3 separate regions of the Homo sapiens genome follow, and regions 2 and 3 are each linked to region 1. The links are contacts of gene promoters, found by promoter capture Hi-C in blood cells and fetal thymus (Javierre and others, 2016). All regions are on one chromosome and are shown on one strand. The core of a region is centred on a gene start or on the middle of the fragment in contact, and the rest is flanking DNA. Distances in the headings are between cores, read along the strand shown. Region 1 holds the start of PRPF39 (pre-mRNA processing factor 39). Region 2 overlaps TOGARAM1 (TOG array regulator of axonemal microtubules 1). Region 3 overlaps FANCM (FA complementation group M).

Region 1 (2,700 bases), core at 26-2,525:
GTGCTGGTGAGAGGATTTATGATTAACCTGCGTTGTGACAAGAAACGTCGTCTTGTAAATAAGTATTTCCAGAGGAGACAGATTTCAGATGAGGAACTTGGAGCCCAGTAGTAATACTAATGCACCTGGAACAACAGATTACATGGTAAGTGACAGGTGAATGCGGGGGCACCAATGTAACAGAATCTTAAAGGGAGAGAGGCCAGATTTGAAAGAAAATTTTTTTTTATTAAAGTGGAGATGGTGGTACAACTGAAGAGGACTGCTAAGATTGTTAACGCACAGTCCCCCTCAATTTGTCCAGAGGATAACATATCCCTTCAGATACAAAGATTTTTTTTTTTGCTTGGCCAACTTTAGTCAGGTTTCTGAATCTTCTGCTAGGCTCTTCTGTACACTTTCTTTGTAAAATCCAGTTTAAGCAAAGAACTTTGCTAAGTCAGATTAGCAATAAACCCCCATCCTTGATAGCTGATCATCCTCAATATCTGATCAGGTTCTTCAGTCTCCACCATCCCCCAGGTGATGCCTCATTATCTTGGCCTGTCTTCAGCAAAAATCCTATTAGGTGGGTTTAGCCAAAATCCCCCTTACCCTGATGTTTCCTCTTAGTAATTATACATTCACTTACCACCGCTCCTTGGCTATAAATCTCCACTTGCCCATGCTGTATGAGGAGTTGAGCCCAATATCTCTTTCCCTACTGCAAGTCTCCATTGCAGTCAGTGGTCCCTATACCTGTTGCGATGGTCCTGAATAAAGCCCTCTTTTTGTGCTTTAACAAGTGTCACTAAATACTTTTTTCTTTAACAATAGCCCGTTCTCCAAACCCCTAACTCCAGAACTGTTTAGTTTTCAGGAAACCTGAGTGGGCCCAGGGTCTATACCATCGTGAGATTTGTGGGTTTAAGGCTGAATTTCTGCCCGTTTTTAGGTAAATGTTTTAGTGTGAAAGCTTGAACAATTGTAGGGAAAACCTTAGATTTGCCCCCAAAAATGACATTTTGCCGTTTTTGGTGGGGAGGGGTCAGGGCGCTGTGTTTAAGATCAGGCGTGTGAAAGCCCCTAAACGCCCTCCTTTCCTTTGGGAAGTCCCTATGGAGGGAAAGGCAGGTAGGCGCAGCGGTCCCCGCCCTCGCTCGCGGCGGGGCGGGGCGGGGCTGCGGGGGCGGGGCTGGGGCCGCACGGGCAGCGAGGATCCCTGGGAGGGCCAGGCCTGCGCGCTGCGAACCCACGTGACTTTTTCGCCTCCAGGGACACTGACGCATGCGCATCGTGCCCTGGACCAGGCGGCCGTGGCGCGGGTGGCGGCTGCTGTGCTGGCTGTGGGGACGGAGGCGGTGAAGTGCCATCTTCGGCTAGGTCGTCACAGGCTCCGGCTCATGGCATCAAGTGGCATCCATCATAAGGTCTGCTGGGGCGGGCTCCTTGAAATTAGCTGGGGCAGAGGGTGGTACTTGGTACTGAAAGGGGCCTGCCGGGTTTCAGGCCGCGCTCTGGCCGCGGCCTCCCTCTCCCGCCCTGTTTGAGGCCTGGCTCGGATTCAGCGCTCAGCTGTCCATTCCTTTCTCCTTCCCACCTGTTGGGTGGAGCGGTGCAAGGTATTTTTTTCTTAGACCAAACGTTTCACTTGAGGGGTGCGTTAGGTAGGGTGGAGAAGTGTGGGCCTCCTTCGCCTGGATTTAGGAAGATATTTGGGGGTAATTCTAAAGCCCTTGCTTCTCCCGGAGCTGGAACACGGCTGGGGTGGCTGGAAGTGGAAGGAGCACATTTGCAGCCGCCAGAGGATTGGGAAGATAATATACGTTCTATTACTAAGGCATGTGAGCGCCTTGTAGGGCACGTTCTGTCTTCTGACTACATAAGCAACACTTTTGCGACCCTAAGTCACAGCACCCACAGCTTTTGGCAGGATACTTTAAAACAGAAAAAACACATCATTGATCCTGGCAGGATTTTTTAAGGGATTGTGCTTAAGAATGTTTAACTTTGGTAATCAGAGACCACCACTGGTGTTTTTCTCCAAAATCACATCTTTAAGTTAATTAATACTTGAAGTTAATAAATAATACTGCTCAGTGTATTAGTAATGATGCCATAATACCATGTGAATTTATGCTGATTCAAATGTTGTTTTTTTCGTTTGATACTCATATGGCCTTCTGTTTGAGGACTTCAGATTATTTAGCAACTGATTTAATCTGTTCAGAAATAAACTTTGCTACAGCTGGAAAGCGTGAGGCTTGAGAAAGCAAGTTTTGGACAGGGACGTATGAAGCTCATGTTGAAACTTAAGTGTTTTAGGCTGTATGGGAGCTTGAATGGAGTGAAAAGAACAAGCGTCTACTGTCAGGTTTTCCTCCTCCCTCTAGATTTATAACCTCATTCTAGAGTTGCAAAAGTTGGAACTTTCCACTGTTCACTCTCTAGTAGGGATAAAGTGATGGAAAGGAGTTCTGTTAAAGAGGACTAGTACTTAGATTGTGAACTTTGAAGTAGGGGTTGAGCATAGATGGCTCATAGGTGGTATGAGACACTATTTGTGTAAAGTCTCAGAATATTTTTCCTTGCTTATAATTGAATAAGAAAGAAGATGTTTAAAAGTCAAATGATAAAAATTGTATGTGCTGTTTTCTGTGGTATGTTTTAACAAATCTACATGGAAGATAGGACTTCAAAAAAAATTAAAAATAGCCGAAG
Region 2 (2,700 bases), core at 153-2,652, 49 kb before region 1:
GAACCGAGATCATGTCACTGCACTCCAGCCTGGGTGACAGAGTGAGACTCCATCTCAAAAACAAAGAAACAACAACAAAAAAACAATAGTTTTCAAGACACTGTTCACCAGGCTATGGAAAGATGTTGATCTCTGAGAGACAGGAAACAAACCAGGTGAGCCCTACAATTACCCAGCTTGCTTTCTGGAGAGAGTTTCCAGGTTGCAGCTAAAGGGAGGGAAAACAGGCAGATAGCATCAGAGATGGACATGGTGCTGAGAGTTTGAGGAGGCCATGGTGACTAGACTTTGCAGGACAGAATGCCAGATAGAGCTCCACAGAGAGCTCCAGAGATCATAAGAGGATTTTACTCAAATGTTTAGCAGACAACTGGTCGGGGCATGCATGTAAATACATTTCCTGAGGCCAGAACAAGAACCACTCAAAAAAGTTACAAGGAACAATGTCAGGAGCATATACAATGTTAATAATACTTCCTGTTCCCACCAGCAGAGTGGAAAAGTTCATAATTCACAGGGCATTGGGTAGAATACTCAGAGTTTTGCTCCATAGTGTAGTAAAATAAACCATAGACTGAATGTTAGTTTGGTTCCTACCCAATGAAGTTTAAAAGCAAGGCCTAAGATGATCAAACATTTGATCCTTATTTGAAATACATTTTCAAATAACTATATCCCAGAACAAAGCTGAAGAATATTTATAGGAATACAAAAATAGCTAAAGTGAAATTACCAGGCATGCAGAGAAGCAGGAAAATATAACCAATAGTGAGAAGAAAAAAAGCCAAGTGAAACCAATGCAAAAATGACACAGGTGATAGAATTAGTAGACAAAGACATTGTAACTGTAACTACTGCATGCATTAAAGAGGCTGGAGGAAAGGTTGAGCAAGTAAAGAGATATAATATATATAAGAAACCCAAAACTAATATCTACAGATGAAAGCTATAATGTCTGAGATAGGAAATACACTGGATGAGATTAATAGGTTAGACATTCCAGAAGAAAAGATTAGTGAAGTTGAAGACGTAACCATTGAAACTATTCAAAATGAAACAATGAAGCCTGACCAATAAGGCAAAATCCTGTGTCTACCAAAAATACAAAAATTAGCTGGGTGTGGTGATGCACACCTGTAGTCCCAGCTACTGGGGCGACTGGGGCAGGAGAATCGCTTAAACCCGGGAGGCGGAGGTTGCAGTGAGCTGAGATCGTACCACTGCACCCAGCCTGGGCAACAGGGTGAGACTCTGTCTCAAGTAAAAAAAAAAAATCAAAATGAAACAATGAGAGAAACAAGACTGAAAAAAAAGTCCAAAAAATCTGTCAATTGTGGGACAACTTCAAGTTATGTGTAATTGGAGTTACCAGACAGAGAAGGAGACAGAAAAGAATATTTGTAGAAAAAAATGGACAAAATTTGTTCAAATTGGATGAAAACTATAAACCCAAAGATCTAAGAAGTTCAGTGAACACCAAACACAAGAAACATGAAAAGAAATATTTCAAAGGAGATATAATCAAAAGGCCTAAAATTAGGGATGGAGAAAATCTTAAAAATAGCTAGGGGCAAGACATTACATATAGAACAAAGATCAGACTACTCATCAAATACACTGCAAACCAAAAAACAGTTCAGTGAGATCTTTAAAGTACTGAAAGGAAAAACAAACTGTCAATCTAGAATTCTATATCCAATGAAAATATCTTTCAAAAATAAAAGTAGTGGGCCAGGCATGGTGGCTCACACTTGTAATCCCAGCACTTTATGAGGCCAAGCCAGGAAGATTGCTTGAGCCCAGAAGTTAAAGACCAGCCTTTGCAATATAGCAAGACCTCATCTCTAGAAAAAAAAAAAAAAAGAAAGAAAAAAAATTTAAAATCTGGATGCAGTGATGTGTTTCTGTAGTCCCAGCTAATCAGGAGGCTGAGGCAGAAGGATTGCCTGAATCCAGGGGTTCGAGGCTGCAGTGAGCTGTGATTGTGCCACTACACTGCAGCCTGAGCAACAGAACAAGACCTTGTCTCTAAAAAAAAAAAAAAAAAAAAAAAAAAAGTTTTAAAAGAAGCAAAATGTCTGACAGTTTGATACAAAGGCCCAAAGGGAAGACATGGCAGTATTGCTTTACCAAGGCAACAAAGGAGATAAAATATAACTATAAAAATAATTATAAAGAAAAGATGGGACAAATAGAAAACAAACAGCAAGATGATAGACTTAAACCCAATCATCTAATCACATTAAATGTAGATGAACTAAACACCCTAGTGAGATTAGATTAAAAAGCAAGACCCAACTATATGCTACCTATAAGAAATTCTGTTTAAATATATAGATACAAATAAGTTAAAAGTAGAGATTCAAAAAGATGTATACCATGCTAACACTAATCAAAAGATAGATTACATGGCCATATTAATATCAAAGTATATTTCAAAGCAAAGAATATTAATGAGAGTATTTATTTTATATTGTTATGTAACAAATTGCCACAAACTCAGTGGATTCAAACCACACAAATTGATTAACTCTCAGTTTTCTGGGTCAAGAGATCAGATATAAGTTAACTCAGCTCTTTGCTCAAAATACCACTAGGCTGAAATCAAAGTATCAGCCAGGGATGTGATCTCTTCTTTCAATTTTCTTAGAAGCTCATTGTTTGGAAGAATTGTCTTCCTTGTAGATGTGCAACTGTGGT
Region 3 (2,934 bases), core at 255-2,754, 55 kb after region 1:
TTCAAATCAGTGTCTTCACTGCCTTTTGCTGTTATTGTTGTTTTCTTTTTCTTTTCTTCTATTTTAAGACTAACCAGATAATTAGTGTCAGATGTAGATCATGAGAGCCTAGTCATGGTTGGGACAGTGATCTAAAATAGGGTATGAAAGGAGTTTTGAAATTAATAAAGATTGGTAGTGGATATGCGGTGTCTCTTCTTGGCGGCTAGGTAAAATAATGACATAATGTATGCCACATACCTAACACAGTGCCTTCCAGTTGAGTACTCCAGGAATATAAAATAAGATGAAGTAGTGGGATGTGGTTGCAAACATCATTCATATCTTTGCACTGAATGAAGTTGACTTTCTGTTTCCCTCTTCTCCTAAGGGGGATTTTGCCTCTTCTACTCAAGGTCCAGGTCATTAATATTTTATGCTTAATAGTTTGAAAGCCTTTGTAGGCCATAGGGGATAAAGGTGGTGGGGACTCATTAAAAAATGTTTGGCTGGGATAACACTTAAGATTTGAAAGAGATTAGAGAGAAGAAGGCTAAAGACAGAGTATCTAATGAGGGGTAGAAGGGATGTAGGATGACTTCCAGATTTCTGACTTGGAAAACTGTGAAGATTGTGAGTTCTGGGTGGAGAGCAGGTTTAGGGGGAACGTGGAAAGATGATTTAGATGTGTTGAGTTTGAGGTGTCTATGAGGAATTCAGCTGTAGATATTCATTAGGCGATACTTGATAGAAGTATGGATCTTGCTGGAGAGTTCTGAGGTAGATAGAGATACAGATTTGGAAATTATAAACATATAGATGGTAGTTAAAACTATAGTAGTTGGTGATGATAGGAGGAGATTATAGAGCAAGAATAAAAGAGGGAAAGGTAGGGAAAGTTAATTTCATTTAGGGCAAAGACATGAATTTCTCTGCCAGTTTTTGAATTTGTATAGTCATTTCTTTGGGGACTGTAAACGTTATTGTATTATATCTCTGTATTAGGGATAATTGTCATCTTTTTTAATAATTGATCTTCCTAATTATATTCAGGAAATGAATATAATATATTTTTCCACTTATTGATATCATTCCAAATTAAATTAATACATAGCATGTTAAAAATTTCCATCTGAGAGGGGCATTTAAAAAATTTTAGCTTGAGGCCAGGAGTTTGAGATCAGCTTGGGCAACATAGTGAGACCCTGTGTCTACAAAAATGAAATGAAATAATAAAACACTTAAAAATTTTTTAAAATTCAAACTGTATGGAATACGTTTTGAAGATTTAGCTGGTAATTATTTTATTTTCAAAACATTTCTAGGCATTAGATTTTTTTTTAACAGCAAGGCTTTATGAATATAATGAAACATGCATTGACTTCATTAATAACCAGACAGCCCTGACAGCTTACACCGCATTGAATATTCCAGATATACATTCCAATAGGTACACCTGCTCCATGAGGCACACACCACCATTTCCTCTTCTACAAGATGCTTGAGAATTCTTCGTGAAAAGAAGTAATGTATTTGGCTTACTTTTCATATGTAATAGTTCTGGAAGGCATATTGATACATGTGCCATATAACAACAAAATGATTTCACTCAAAACTGCCTCACAATCTGAAAGAACACTTTGAATTTTGGCTATCATACAAAACATTTTTAAAAGCATCAATCCAGTAAGCAATCTTTTTGTCTTCCTTACTGCACTCATGACTTTTCAAAAATCCTTCTATTATATGTAAGGACCATCACTTCTAGCATTAAGCTAAACTGAAAATGGTCACTAGGGATATTTTATCTTGCATCAGTTTTTAATTATAATTTTACTTGTTTCTGAAGAATAATAAGTATAATGTTATGTCTTCATATGCAATCTGTACCATATTTTTAAAAGCTCGATAAATATTTTTTCAGTATTAATCAAGATTCAGTGTTAGTCTCATTGGATTTGTTTTTGTCTTGGGTTGAAATTGGAGTGATTTTTGGATAATCTGGTTTTATTGTTTAATCCTGTGTTTAATTTGGGAACTATGGTATACTGAGAGCTGTTCCTGCAAATCAGTCTACTTGGAAGTGCATTTTCCTCTGTATTGGGAAATGAAGTGGTATATGGGAATCTGGCAAATTATCCCAGTATTAATCATACTAGAATGGGTGTCGAGTTCAAACCAGAAAGTGCAGATGGTGGTTTGGTGCTACCGAGGAAATGTTTTAGGATTTAAAAGGAAATTTAGATTTTAAAGATTACCTCAAATGACTATATTTTTTAATGAATACACTTAATTTATATATTGTGAGCTGGGCGCAGTGGCTTGAACCTGTAATTCCAGCACTTTGGAAGGCCAATGCCAGGGATCACTTGAGGCCAGGAGTTCAAGACTGGCCTGGGCAGGGTGACTCTGCCTCTACAGAAAGTGAAAAAATTAGCTTTCACTACATTACAGGTATGCTGGCGCATACCTGTAGCCCCAGCTGCTTGGGAGGCCAAGGCAGGAGGATCACTTGAGCCCCAGAGGTTGAGGCTACAGTGAGCTATGATGGATGGCATCACTGTGCTCCAGCCTGGGTGACAGAGTAAGACCCTGTTTCTAAAAAAAAAATTTTTTGTGAGCTTTCCACATAAAATGTAACTTAAAAAAAAATCTTTCCCAAAATTTCAAATATAATTTCGTATTGCTATTTAAAATTCTGTGCAGTTTTATCTGTTAAGATTTCTCTTAATCTGTCAAGTGTGCATATGGGTATAGCCGTAAGGCTGAACTGTGGCCCAGACAATGGAAACTGAACTTTCTTCCTCTTCCATTTGACCTTAAAGCAGTCCTTTTGAGTTTTTTTTTTTCTTTTGTAGAGACCAGGTTTCACCATGTTGCCCAGGCTGGTCTTGAACTCTTGAGCTAAAGTGAACCACCCACCTTGGCCTCCCAAAAGTGTTGAGATTACAAGCG

The links. The method cuts DNA at HindIII sites, captures the fragments that hold promoters and counts their contacts. A CHiCAGO score of 5 or more calls a contact.
Region 2: a contact is called between a fragment that was not itself captured here and the fragment with the promoter of PRPF39 in region 1, in 1 of 17 cell types (activated CD4 T cells). The highest score is 5.0, in activated CD4 T cells.
Region 3: a contact is called between a fragment that was not itself captured here and the fragment with the promoter of PRPF39 in region 1, in 12 of 17 cell types (activated CD4 T cells, non-activated CD4 T cells, monocytes and 9 more). The highest score is 17.7, in activated CD4 T cells.

What each region holds. Positions count from the first base shown.
Region 1 is chr14:45,082,841-45,085,540 of GRCh38, forward strand. PRPF39 (pre-mRNA processing factor 39) reads left to right here and starts at 1,276. Exons shown (of 14, transcript NM_017922.4): 1 at 1,276-1,409. It overlaps PRPF39-DT (PRPF39 divergent transcript), which reads right to left and starts at 1,186. Exons shown (of 2, transcript NR_184211.1): 1 at 632-1,186; 2 at 208-547. RefSeq lists a silencer at 981-1,270. The HindIII fragment of the contact is 5,294 bases long and covers 954-2,700 here.
Region 2 is chr14:45,034,101-45,036,800 of GRCh38, forward strand. All of the region lies in intron 11 of TOGARAM1 (TOG array regulator of axonemal microtubules 1), which reads left to right. Among named protein-coding and RNA genes, the nearest start is that of PRPF39-DT, 49 kb to the right of the region's middle. The HindIII fragment of the contact is 6,169 bases long and covers 1-2,700 here.
Region 3 is chr14:45,137,411-45,140,344 of GRCh38, forward strand. All of the region lies in intron 2 of FANCM (FA complementation group M), which reads left to right. Among named protein-coding and RNA genes, the nearest start is that of FANCM, 2.9 kb to the left of the region's middle. The HindIII fragment of the contact is 3,673 bases long and covers 1-2,934 here.